3 separate regions of the Homo sapiens genome follow, and all the other regions are linked to region 3. Evidence: promoter capture Hi-C in 16 types of primary human blood cells and fetal thymus (Javierre and others, 2016). All regions are on one chromosome and are shown on one strand. Each heading gives the region's core, a stretch centred on a gene start or on the middle of the fragment in contact. The rest is flanking DNA. Distances are from core to core; before and after follow the strand shown. Region 1 has its middle 31 kb from the start of DNAH7. Region 2 holds the start of RFTN2 (raftlin family member 2). Region 3 holds the start of PGAP1 (post-GPI attachment to proteins inositol deacylase 1).

Region 1 (3,134 bases), core at 458-2,957, 830 kb before region 3:
TTAATCTTTTAATATGCCAATACATATAATTTTTAAAATAAGGGATTATTCTGACTTAAAATAAATAGATGAGACAAAAAGAAATGCAGGTTCCCCAATAATTTGCAAACTATTCACCTATTGCAAATATTTCCATAAATAGCCCCCTCTTCTGCTCTTGTTCTCTCTAATTTATGACTGGAAAATCTCCTTGAAAACTCTTTCATTTACCAACTCCAAGCTAAGCCTCCTGCCCTCCTCTCTTCTGCCTTATACTGACCTGTGACCAGTGTCAGATGGGCCTCTTAGAGCAAACCTTTCTGCTCTTCCTTCACCCTCTCCACTGTCTTCACACACTGTCCATGTGGAATCTTTCTTTCTTAAAGGGCATAGATAATGACTGTGCCCCATGAACTGAAGTCATGGTTGGTGAGTTTTCAGCCTCCATTTTTTTCAGTTTTTCAATTGCTGTTGGCCAGGAGCCCCTTCCAAAAATCAACACATCATGCCTCTATTCTGGAATAAGCATCTTCCAGGTAACCCTCAAATGGATCATATTTTGAGAATTGCAGGCTCACTTCAGTTAGCACGGCATTAGCAAGCTATTCTCTTTCTATCTTCTTCAGAGGTGTTTATTCAGTGGCTCCTGTCTGTGAAGGGTGTCTTCAATCTGCAGTCTGAAGGAAAGAATCTCCACCAGCCATATTTTTGCCAATGCTTGTCCCATTGTTTCTTCCTTGCCACTCCTCCAAAACACACACATACATTCTATACCTCTACTAGCACCCACTATAATCACTGTTTCTACATTCACAGATGCAAAATGCCTTTATGTTCAGAGATGGTTAACATTTTCTTTTTGTCACAAAATCTGTAGGTTGCTTTTTGGATTTTTAGTAATAATCTTACATAGAATACACTTACATAGGACATGGTTCCTAGCCAAAGACATCCAAAAGGTTTGCTCAAAAACATGTCTTGTTGGGTCAGCCTTTATTAAATCCTCCCCAGGAGCCGATATTTTGGGAACAAAATATTACTGGTAAAGAGAAGCATGTGAAGTTTCCAAAAGCAAAAGTGTCTGTAACCAATGAACAGATAAAATTTCAAGGCCTATACAGTAAAGCAGCTGTTAGATGATTTACTGGAAAATTCCTCCAAAACATAATAGAGGCTGCCCACTACAAAGGAAATATTTTTCCTTCAAGTGCATAATATTCAAGTTCAATATGTTATGTACTCAAATTACCTCTCTATTAAAATCTGGGGTTTTCACGATAACCTCCACCATGGGGACTTGATTCTCATTCCATCCCAATGAAAAGCCAGGACAGCACTGGTTGGTGTGAGATTCATGAGGTGAGTTCCAAACTCCAGAGACTCATTCCTTTTGTGCAGCTTCCAGTATCAATAACACAGGATAGGACTTCATTTCCCAGGCATATAAGTGACTCACACTAAACTAGACAAATTCGATAACCTCTCACTTTCATTTAGAGAAATGATCATAAAGCTGCCAGTGGGGCACCATGTGATTTTCAAGGCGGGCAGCACAATTGCAAAACAATACTTGCAGGAATCATAGAGGAAGAGAACAATTGTTTCCAGCACCTCCCTTATCTCACTATATGGACAGACAGTGCATAGAGGGACATTCTCAGATGCCACAGCACTTGAGTGTTTTGGTAAAGTCCTGATGGAGACCAGGGAAAGCGGCAAGAGAGTGAGGTGTGCAGCACACAGCACAGTCACTGCTCCACAGCACCAGAGATCTGGAGGCACACGTGGAACCAAATGGGCCAAAAAAAAAAAAAAAAAAAAAAAAGGAATTCATAGTCCTCAGGCCAAGAATTCTCCATTTAACCTCATTCTTGACTCTGCCAACCCACGCGATCATTTATTAGGAGTTAACAGAAACCTTTAGGGAGAGATTTGTTAAGGGTTACAGAATCAGAGCAAGGGAGGAGGAATACGTTTCTAGTGTTCTATACCACTGTAGGACTACTACAGTTAACAATATGTAGTTTCAAATAGCTAGAAGGAAGGATATTGAATGTTCCCAACACAAAGAAATGATAAATGTTTGAGATAATGGATATGCTAATTACCCTGATCTAATCATCATACATTATATGTATCAAAACATCCTTACATACCCCATGAATATGTACAATTATTATGTGTAAATTAAGAAAGAAAGAAATCTCTTGGACTCCATGTAATGTATTTACGCACAGAACACATTCTGGCTCAAACTAGGAGGTGGAGGTCTCCAACTGTACAAAGGGCACTATTGCACTTACTAGGGGTAAGGATTAGAGCTTTCGATCTACACAGGAAAAGTAGAAATGGCAGTCAAGAGCCACAGTGATGCAAGCTGAAGTCAAACCAAGAGGTGTTCCCTGCCACTTGTCTCTTATTTTGAACATGCCAACTAATTGCAGCCCACCCATCCATCCTTCCTTGTGCCAGAGGTGAGGGCTAAGCCATTGCTGCAGAAGTCCTCTTCAGCAGATAGCTGTTTATCTGGTCCTTGATTAATGGTAAGGGGGCTGCTCCTAGCTTTGTTTGGATGTTCAGACAGCAAGAGAGGACACTTGGTTTCAATATGTATATCTATTTGATTCAACCTCCAGCTAAACAATCCTGTTTTCCCTAAGAAATGAACATGGAAATGGTCAAATGTCCACAGGAACATTGGTACAGGAGGAGTATGTTCAATAATCACAAGATATGAGTCAGATGTTCAGAGTGTGATTTTGATATGAACCTTTATTGTGGGAGAGGGAGGGAGGGTTGAGCTATCTGAGAATCAGTTCTGGCTCAGTCCCTTGAGCCTGCTTGGGTGCGAAGGTTTCAGTTCTGTGTCAGTGACTCAGCTCTACTCTGTTCAGGGAAGATAAATTAGGTGCCACGTGCTTTACTCTTAGTGAAATAGGTTATTTTGGGGGAAATATGTGGAAAGTTACTTTTTAAGAAATTCCAGTGAATATGAAGGGCTCCTATCTGAAAAGATGCACATTTGGCTTGTTGTGAGAATTTTTTCCTTCCTTATGAAAAACATCTTGTCTTCAAATTTGTCTGGAACTGTTTACTACATTGCCCTTTTGAGTTGCACCAATAAGAAGGGAGTCAAACACCATTTCCAATAATAC
Region 2 (3,262 bases), core at 231-2,730, 750 kb after region 3:
ATTTTTAACATTCATAATTTAAAAGAAAATTAAGAAATTAAGAATATTAATTTTTTTCTTTTGGTAGCCTTAGCTTTAAACAAAAATAGGATATGAACATGTTAAAAGTCTATGTACAGATTTTGTGTATGTCCCTGGAAGGGAGTTTGTTTGCTGGCCAGCTTAATTTTTGACAAAGAAAAATGGGCTGCTCTTGCTTCTTGCACAAAGATGCACTGTTTCTAGAGCAAAGCAAAAAAAAAAAAAAAAAAAAAAAAGAAAAGAATGTGTGTAAACAAAAAATTTGGAAAAAAATTAAGATAATATTCAACATGATAATTTAGTATAAACTTTTTGTGAATTGATAAAATGTGTGGCTCATTAGAATTAAAAATATAACTATAATAAGAATTTTACTAATATCTGATAACTTTAACAGCAAGCAAAGCACTCTAAATTTCATTTTTACTACTTCATAATTAAAGATATAGCTTTTTTAAAAAGCTGCTTTGTCTGTGCAGTTGTACAGTACTCTAAAGTTTCCAAAAGAAATGAGGCAAAGTATTTGTGAAATCGAGCCACCTCGATTCCTTCCACAGAGCTGCCATCTGGGCTTGTTTATTTGTGTTTCCAACTTTCTGGAACAGAGAGTTTCTCTGTTAGGGACAGGGCACTGAGCAAAGGAAGTGTCTTACAGAAGGCTATCTTTTTTTTTTTTTTAACTACATTTTCAAAACTTATAGTTTAGTTTGGTCAAAAATATCAAATGACTACCATAATCACAGAGTCTAACACAATTGGAAGCCTCAGAATTGTCTTAGCAAACACTCTTCCACGATATGATGCAAGTAATATTTACTACATAATACCTTATTGTGATTTTCAAATCTTTTTCAAAATACAAACTGTCACTAAGGCTATATAGCTATTTGTCCTGGAAATCAAGCATTTTTCATAAATCCTTCTATAAATAAGTATTTGATTTAAAAATGAAAGAAGTATTTCCAAGCAATTTCCCTAATTTTAGAAGGTACATATGAGCCATGTTACCAAAATACGAAGCAATCAACAAAACAAAAATCTTACAAAGTATAATTAAGAAGCGAAGCATTATTGTTTGAATATACAATCTCATTATGAAGAACAGTTTAAAAATTTATTAAGTCAACACTTAAAAATGACTAGTAGTCTCATCTCTGAAACATTTAACAAACAAAATAGAAGCAAAAAGTACCTTGTAGAGTAAAATCCAGCAATACATATTCGTAAGCAAATTCTGTCTTTGTTTCCACTTGCGGTCTCTTCAGGGTAGAAAATATTTTTCCAGGGCTGCTATCATCAGGGTCTTCTAGCTTTCTAAGTCCGCACCCCATGGCAAAATCTGTAAGGAATTAAATTGCAGGAAAGGGGAGGGAGAGCAGCAAATTCTGTTGTTTAAGCTGCAAAAAGAAAGTTACAGACTTAACTGCTTTGATTTTGTTTTCAGCTAAACTATAGATAACCAAAAAAAAAAAAAAAAGCAAAAACCAAAAAAAAAAAAAAAACCCAAAAAAAACCATCTGGGTCCAAAGAAAGGAGTTGAAGAATTTTTCTATCCATTTTTCTGTAAAGTCATTGAACCCATGATTAAGCTACAGCTCCAGGAGGCTGGGCTTGATCTTAGAGAAACATGCAAGCTGCTACAACTTAGCGGAGAATTTCCATGCCACGTCAATTTACAGCCAGCCCCCTACCAGAGTTCTGTCGCTCAGGGCACCAGCGGTGCTTTGTCTATTCCAGTTGGCTGGATGATAAAAAGAGGTGTCCAAAAACGGAAATAAAAAGGCAAAAGGGCAACTTGGATGTAATTATCTACAAGTAGAAGATATATTCAGACATAGTGGCACACAATTCTTTTTCTGTTTTCCCTCTCCTCTCTGTCCTGCGCCTACCCTCCTTCCTCTCAACTACTACCAAGAAAGAAAAAGGAGAGAGAGAGAGAGAGGCAGTAGGGGGGTGGAGAGAGAGACAGAGAGAGAGAGGGAAAAAGAGAGAGAGAGAGTGAAAGAGAGAGAGAGAAAGAAAGAAAGAGAAAAATGAAAAGAGTGGATTCTCAACATATTTAGAAACAAAAATCATTTCCAGAAAGGAAGTCAGCTTTATGAGGAAACTATTTCTGGAGTCTAAAAGGAGGAAAGTAAAGTTTAAAAAAACAGCCCTTTAAGTCTTTAGTTAGTACTTTTGAGGATTTCTTTCCATATGAAGTTTCTTTCTGTTGGAAAAAATCATATGCTAATTAAAACAGCAAAGTATAAAAAATTTATATTAAAATATTTTTATAAAAAAGACTTTACTTAATTGCAAAGGAGAGACAGTTATGTGTGTAATTAGTTTCCCCAACATCCTTAAATAGTTTAAAACACTCTACTATTAGAAGGCTTATGATAGCAACTAATACTTCTATAGGTCTCAAAGTATCCTTAATTAAAAAATAAAACAAAACTGACAACTTGATTCATTTAATTTTTTTTTTTTTGAGATGTGGTCTTGCCTGTCACCTAGGCTAGAGTGCAGTGGCAAAATCATGGTTCACTTCAGCCTCGACCTCCCGGGCTCAAGCCATCTTCCCACCTCAGCTTCCCAAGTAGCTGAGACCACAGGCTTCAATGTGATTGAAAAAATTTTTCAGGCTTGTATTCTCTAGAATCTCAACTGTGATAAGGGTTTATTTTGTAAATAATGGAAGCAGTGGCAGAATCACATGCAACCACATCTGGCTCATTTTTGTATTTTTTTGTGGAGATAGGGTCTCACTATGTCACCCAGGCTGGTTTTGAAATCCTCAGCTAAAGTGATCCTTCTGGATCGGCTTCCCAAAGTACTGGGATTACAGGTGTGAGTCACTGCACCAGGGCCATTCAGTCTTATAAACTGCCATTTACCGGAGGTCAAGAATAATTTATAATGGACCAATTGTAATGAACGTTTATTGTATTTTACCCTTTACAGGTCAGGAAGTATGGTGCGCTCATCAAAACTGTGAGCCCTGGAATCAGGCTGCCTGGGTTCAAATCCTGCTTCTTAGGCCTACTAGAGATGTAATCTTGGGCAAGTTACTTGACCTCTTCAAGTTTCAACTTCCTCCCCTGTAAATGGTACTTACTACATAGGCTTGTTATGAAGGCTGAATGAGATAATCTTATCTCATATGTTAACACTAGGCCTGGCTAATAGCACAAAATACATTTGTTGATGCGTGTACGTTATAAAACAGGTTGGGAGTAGGAATAGGAAGGAAGTGATT
Region 3 (3,278 bases), core at 26-2,525:
CATTTTATGGTAGGGAATTATTACAATAGGTAGTCCATAATTAAGAGATGCACTTAGAAATAAAAGAATCATTCGGAAAAATTCTCTTAGGACAGTTGTGTAATTTGTCTGCGCCTCTTTTTACAGCTAGTCATGAATGAAATTCTAGATCCTACTATGCCGAACTAACGAAGCCATTGATTGAAAACATTCAAAATGGCATGGAAGCGGTAGGGGTGGAGAGAGAAGGGTTGGCTCTCTCTTAAACTCCGAACCCAGCGAGAAAACAAAAATAGCACCATGAAATAGATTTTGTATGCAACTATTAAGAGGCTCGGCTGCTGAGAGACATGCATAAACACAGGTATGCACACACACAGGCAAGCCCACACACGCACGGCCCCTTAACCTGCAAAATAAGAGGATCTGCAACATCTTTCCAAGAGGGGATCTAGTTTCCAATTCAATGACTCGCCAGTTTACCCATAGGCAAAACCCTGGAGTCTCTAAAAACAGCCTTGGGAACTATCTAGCCAATATACACTCTGCAGACGCTCGGTCCCTTTCTAGAAATGCGAAATCTGACGAGCAGATCACCGGGCGCGAGGGGAATTTAGGCGCGTGGGAAGCAAAGGAAGGTCCTGGGGCACGGGTTAAGGCAAGAACGCGAGAGGGATGGAGCTTCGGTTTAGGGAGAAGGGTTGAGGCTGCCTCTCTGGGCATGAGGGGGGCTGGGCCCGGCCAGTCAGAAGAGCTTGTGCCCAGGATTTGGGGCTGGGGAGGAGGCGGAGGGACAGCGGAGTAACTACGAGGACGACCACGAGGATGCTCTCGGGAAATCGTCTAACAAACACCCCACCGTGAAGAAGGGACACAAAGGGGAGGTGAGGGGGGCAGAAGGGGGATGCAGAGTCTCCCCGGGCGGAGAAAACAGAGGCGAGGACGGGACAGGGGGCCCGAGAGGCGCAGAGAGCCAAGGCAGGACGAACCCACAGAAGGAAAAAGGCACCAGGGGCCAGAGTCTTGGAGCGCCCGGCTGAGGAGAGGGCAGAACCTTACCTGATACTCCGGGTACTCAAACATGTAGCTCATACTGCACTTATTCTCCTCGAAGCCGAAGAAGACATCCCACAGCCCCAGGGTTGCCAGAAAGACCATGAAGACATAAAACGCCAGGTTCCAGAGATTAACTGAGTGAAGAAACATGGTGCCGCCACCACCGCCGCCGCCGCCGCCGCCCCCTCTACCTCCTTCTCCGCCGCGGGGCCCCAAGCCCGGACTGAGCGTGCTAGACACTGTCCGACCGCCACCCCCGGAGCCGAGCCCCAGCCGCGCGCGCCTGCGCTGATGCCCGGCCTGCCCGTTCGCCAGCCGCGCAGTGCGCCTGCGCGCACCAGGTCCGCGGCGCCTCTGGCCTGGCGACTCCCAGAGCCGAGGGAGGAGTAGGTGTTGCAGCGCGAGCGCGGATCTACGGGAAAGAGAAAGAGGGAGAAAGCAGGGTGGGCTGGGCTGGAGGGTGAGGGGAAAGAAGGGAAGTGGGGAGAGAAAGACGCGAGGAGTGGCTGGCGGGAGGGAAAGAAGAGAGAGAGAGGAAGCATCCAGAGGGGGATGGGCGGAGCGCGGGAGCCCTGGAGACGAGCCGGGGGATTGGGCAGGAGGCGGGTGTCAGATGGGTGAATCTGGGGAGGGGACTAGAGCCCAGAGTCCAGAGGCGATTAAGGACCGAGAGCGGACCGAGAGAGGGGAGGAGGACTTAAAAGCCCAGGGGTCATCAGCTGTCACCTCGCAAACGCCTCTCCCTGCGGCAGTTTAAAAACGCTTCCCGTTCAATTTTGAAAAGACTCAGGCCTCCGCAATTTCGGTTTTCCCAACGGTAGTAGAGCACACTCACAGCTCTCTGGAGCAGTTAGCTTGAAGAGGGAACAAATGGCTTTATTTTCCCTCTTCTACCGCCTACTTGGGCCCAGTAGGTAACAGCGCTTAAAAGCACCGGCTCATTAAAAAAAAAAAAAAAAAAAAAAAAAAAAACACCCGCAAGCCGACGAGATTCTGCTCTTGGTATCAGATGAAAGCCTGAATCACAAAAAGCATCGTTAGTCCTTAAAATATGTTACCAAAATATCTATTAGCACTGACGTCCCCAACAGGTATCTGCGTAATCAGTTTGACGCTGACTCGCCTTGCTCTCCAGAACCTCCATCTCTTGGGGAATGGGTTCCACGTTAACTGGAGGAGGCAATTTCGTCCAGCTTCCATTCAAACTCGCAAATGACTTAATTCGTTTTGAAGAATTTCGGTTCTGTTTTGTACAAAGGAGGAGTTTTTAAAAAAAGCTCGAAATCAATCACTTGTAGCAGCTTCAAAACACTAGAATGTTAGGAAAAAGACATCACTCTTTAAAGCTGACTCAACAGTAGACGGTGTGTGTGTGCGTGTGTGTGTAGTAACCACAGGATTCTTAGAATGGTCTTTGGCACTAAATGAATTTCATTGAACTTGGGCTGATTTTCTGGTATATTTTCTGTGCAGAGGAAGTTTGGCTACAATACATAAAATCAAAGAATTTTAAAACCAAAAGGAAGCTTATAGTTTATCTTGTACAACACCCTGATGTTCAGATTACGAAACTATGAAGAAGAAGTGGAGTGATCCTGAAAATCAAGATAGTCTTTACCCTGCACAGAAACAGTTGCAAGTCTAAACAAACACAGCTAGCTACGGAATGTGGAGTATTGACGGAGAAAGACAGAAATGGGAAAATGCGGAAGCAGTCTCCTTTTTTGTAGGGAGATAAGTCTGGAAAGACCAGGATAACAGGGGAGCTGTAGGTGGTACTGATCAGGAGGGCAATTAAGTAATATGTCATTGAAGTAAGTCCTGTATGAGACGTGTCGTTTTTGTTTGTTTTGAGACTGAGTCTTGCTCTGTCGCCCAGGCTGGAGTGCAGTGGCGCGATATCGACTCACTGCAGCCTCCGCTTCCCGGGTTCAAGTGATCCTGGTGCCTCGGCCTCCAAGTAGCTGGGATTATAGGTGTGACCACCACACCTGGCTAATTTTTTTTTTTTTTTTTTTGAAACGGAGTCTTGCTCTGTCGCCCAGGCTGGAGTGCAGTGGCGCGATATTGACTCACTGCAGCCTCCGCTTCCCGGATTCAAGTGATCCTGGTGTCTCAGCCTCCAAGTAGCTGGGATTATAGGTGTGACCACCACACCTGGCTAATTTTTTTTTTTTTTTTTTTTTTTTTGAGACGGAGTCTTGCTCTGTTGCCCAGACTGGAGTGCAGTGGCGCGATCTCGG

The links. Contacts are between HindIII fragments. The CHiCAGO score rates a contact against its expected background, and 5 or more counts as called.
Region 1: a fragment that was not itself captured here is called in contact with the fragment with the promoter of PGAP1 in region 3 in 1 of 17 cell types (neutrophils); the score reaches 6.2 in neutrophils.
Region 2: the fragment with the promoter of RFTN2 here is called in contact with the fragment with the promoter of PGAP1 in region 3 in 3 of 17 cell types (neutrophils, fetal thymus and M0 macrophages); the score reaches 7.9 in neutrophils.

Annotation. Positions count from the first base shown.
Region 1 is chr2:196,098,612-196,101,745 of GRCh38, forward strand. No RefSeq gene overlaps it. Among named protein-coding and RNA genes, the nearest start is that of DNAH7, 31 kb to the left of the region's middle. RefSeq lists enhancers at 2,352-2,441, 2,462-2,611, 2,882-2,981. The HindIII fragment of the contact is 5,493 bases long and covers 1-3,134 here.
Region 2 is chr2:197,674,107-197,677,368 of GRCh38, forward strand. RFTN2 (raftlin family member 2) reads right to left here and starts at 1,481. Exons shown (of 9, transcript NM_144629.3): 1 at 1,214-1,481. The coding sequence starts at 1,352. The HindIII fragment of the contact is 18,558 bases long and covers 1-3,262 here.
Region 3 is chr2:196,925,432-196,928,709 of GRCh38, forward strand. It overlaps PGAP1 (post-GPI attachment to proteins inositol deacylase 1), which reads right to left and starts at 1,276. Exons shown (of 27, transcript NM_024989.4): 1 at 1,039-1,276. The coding sequence starts at 1,185. RefSeq lists a silencer at 1,225-1,474. The HindIII fragment of the contact is 4,012 bases long and covers 1-2,559 here.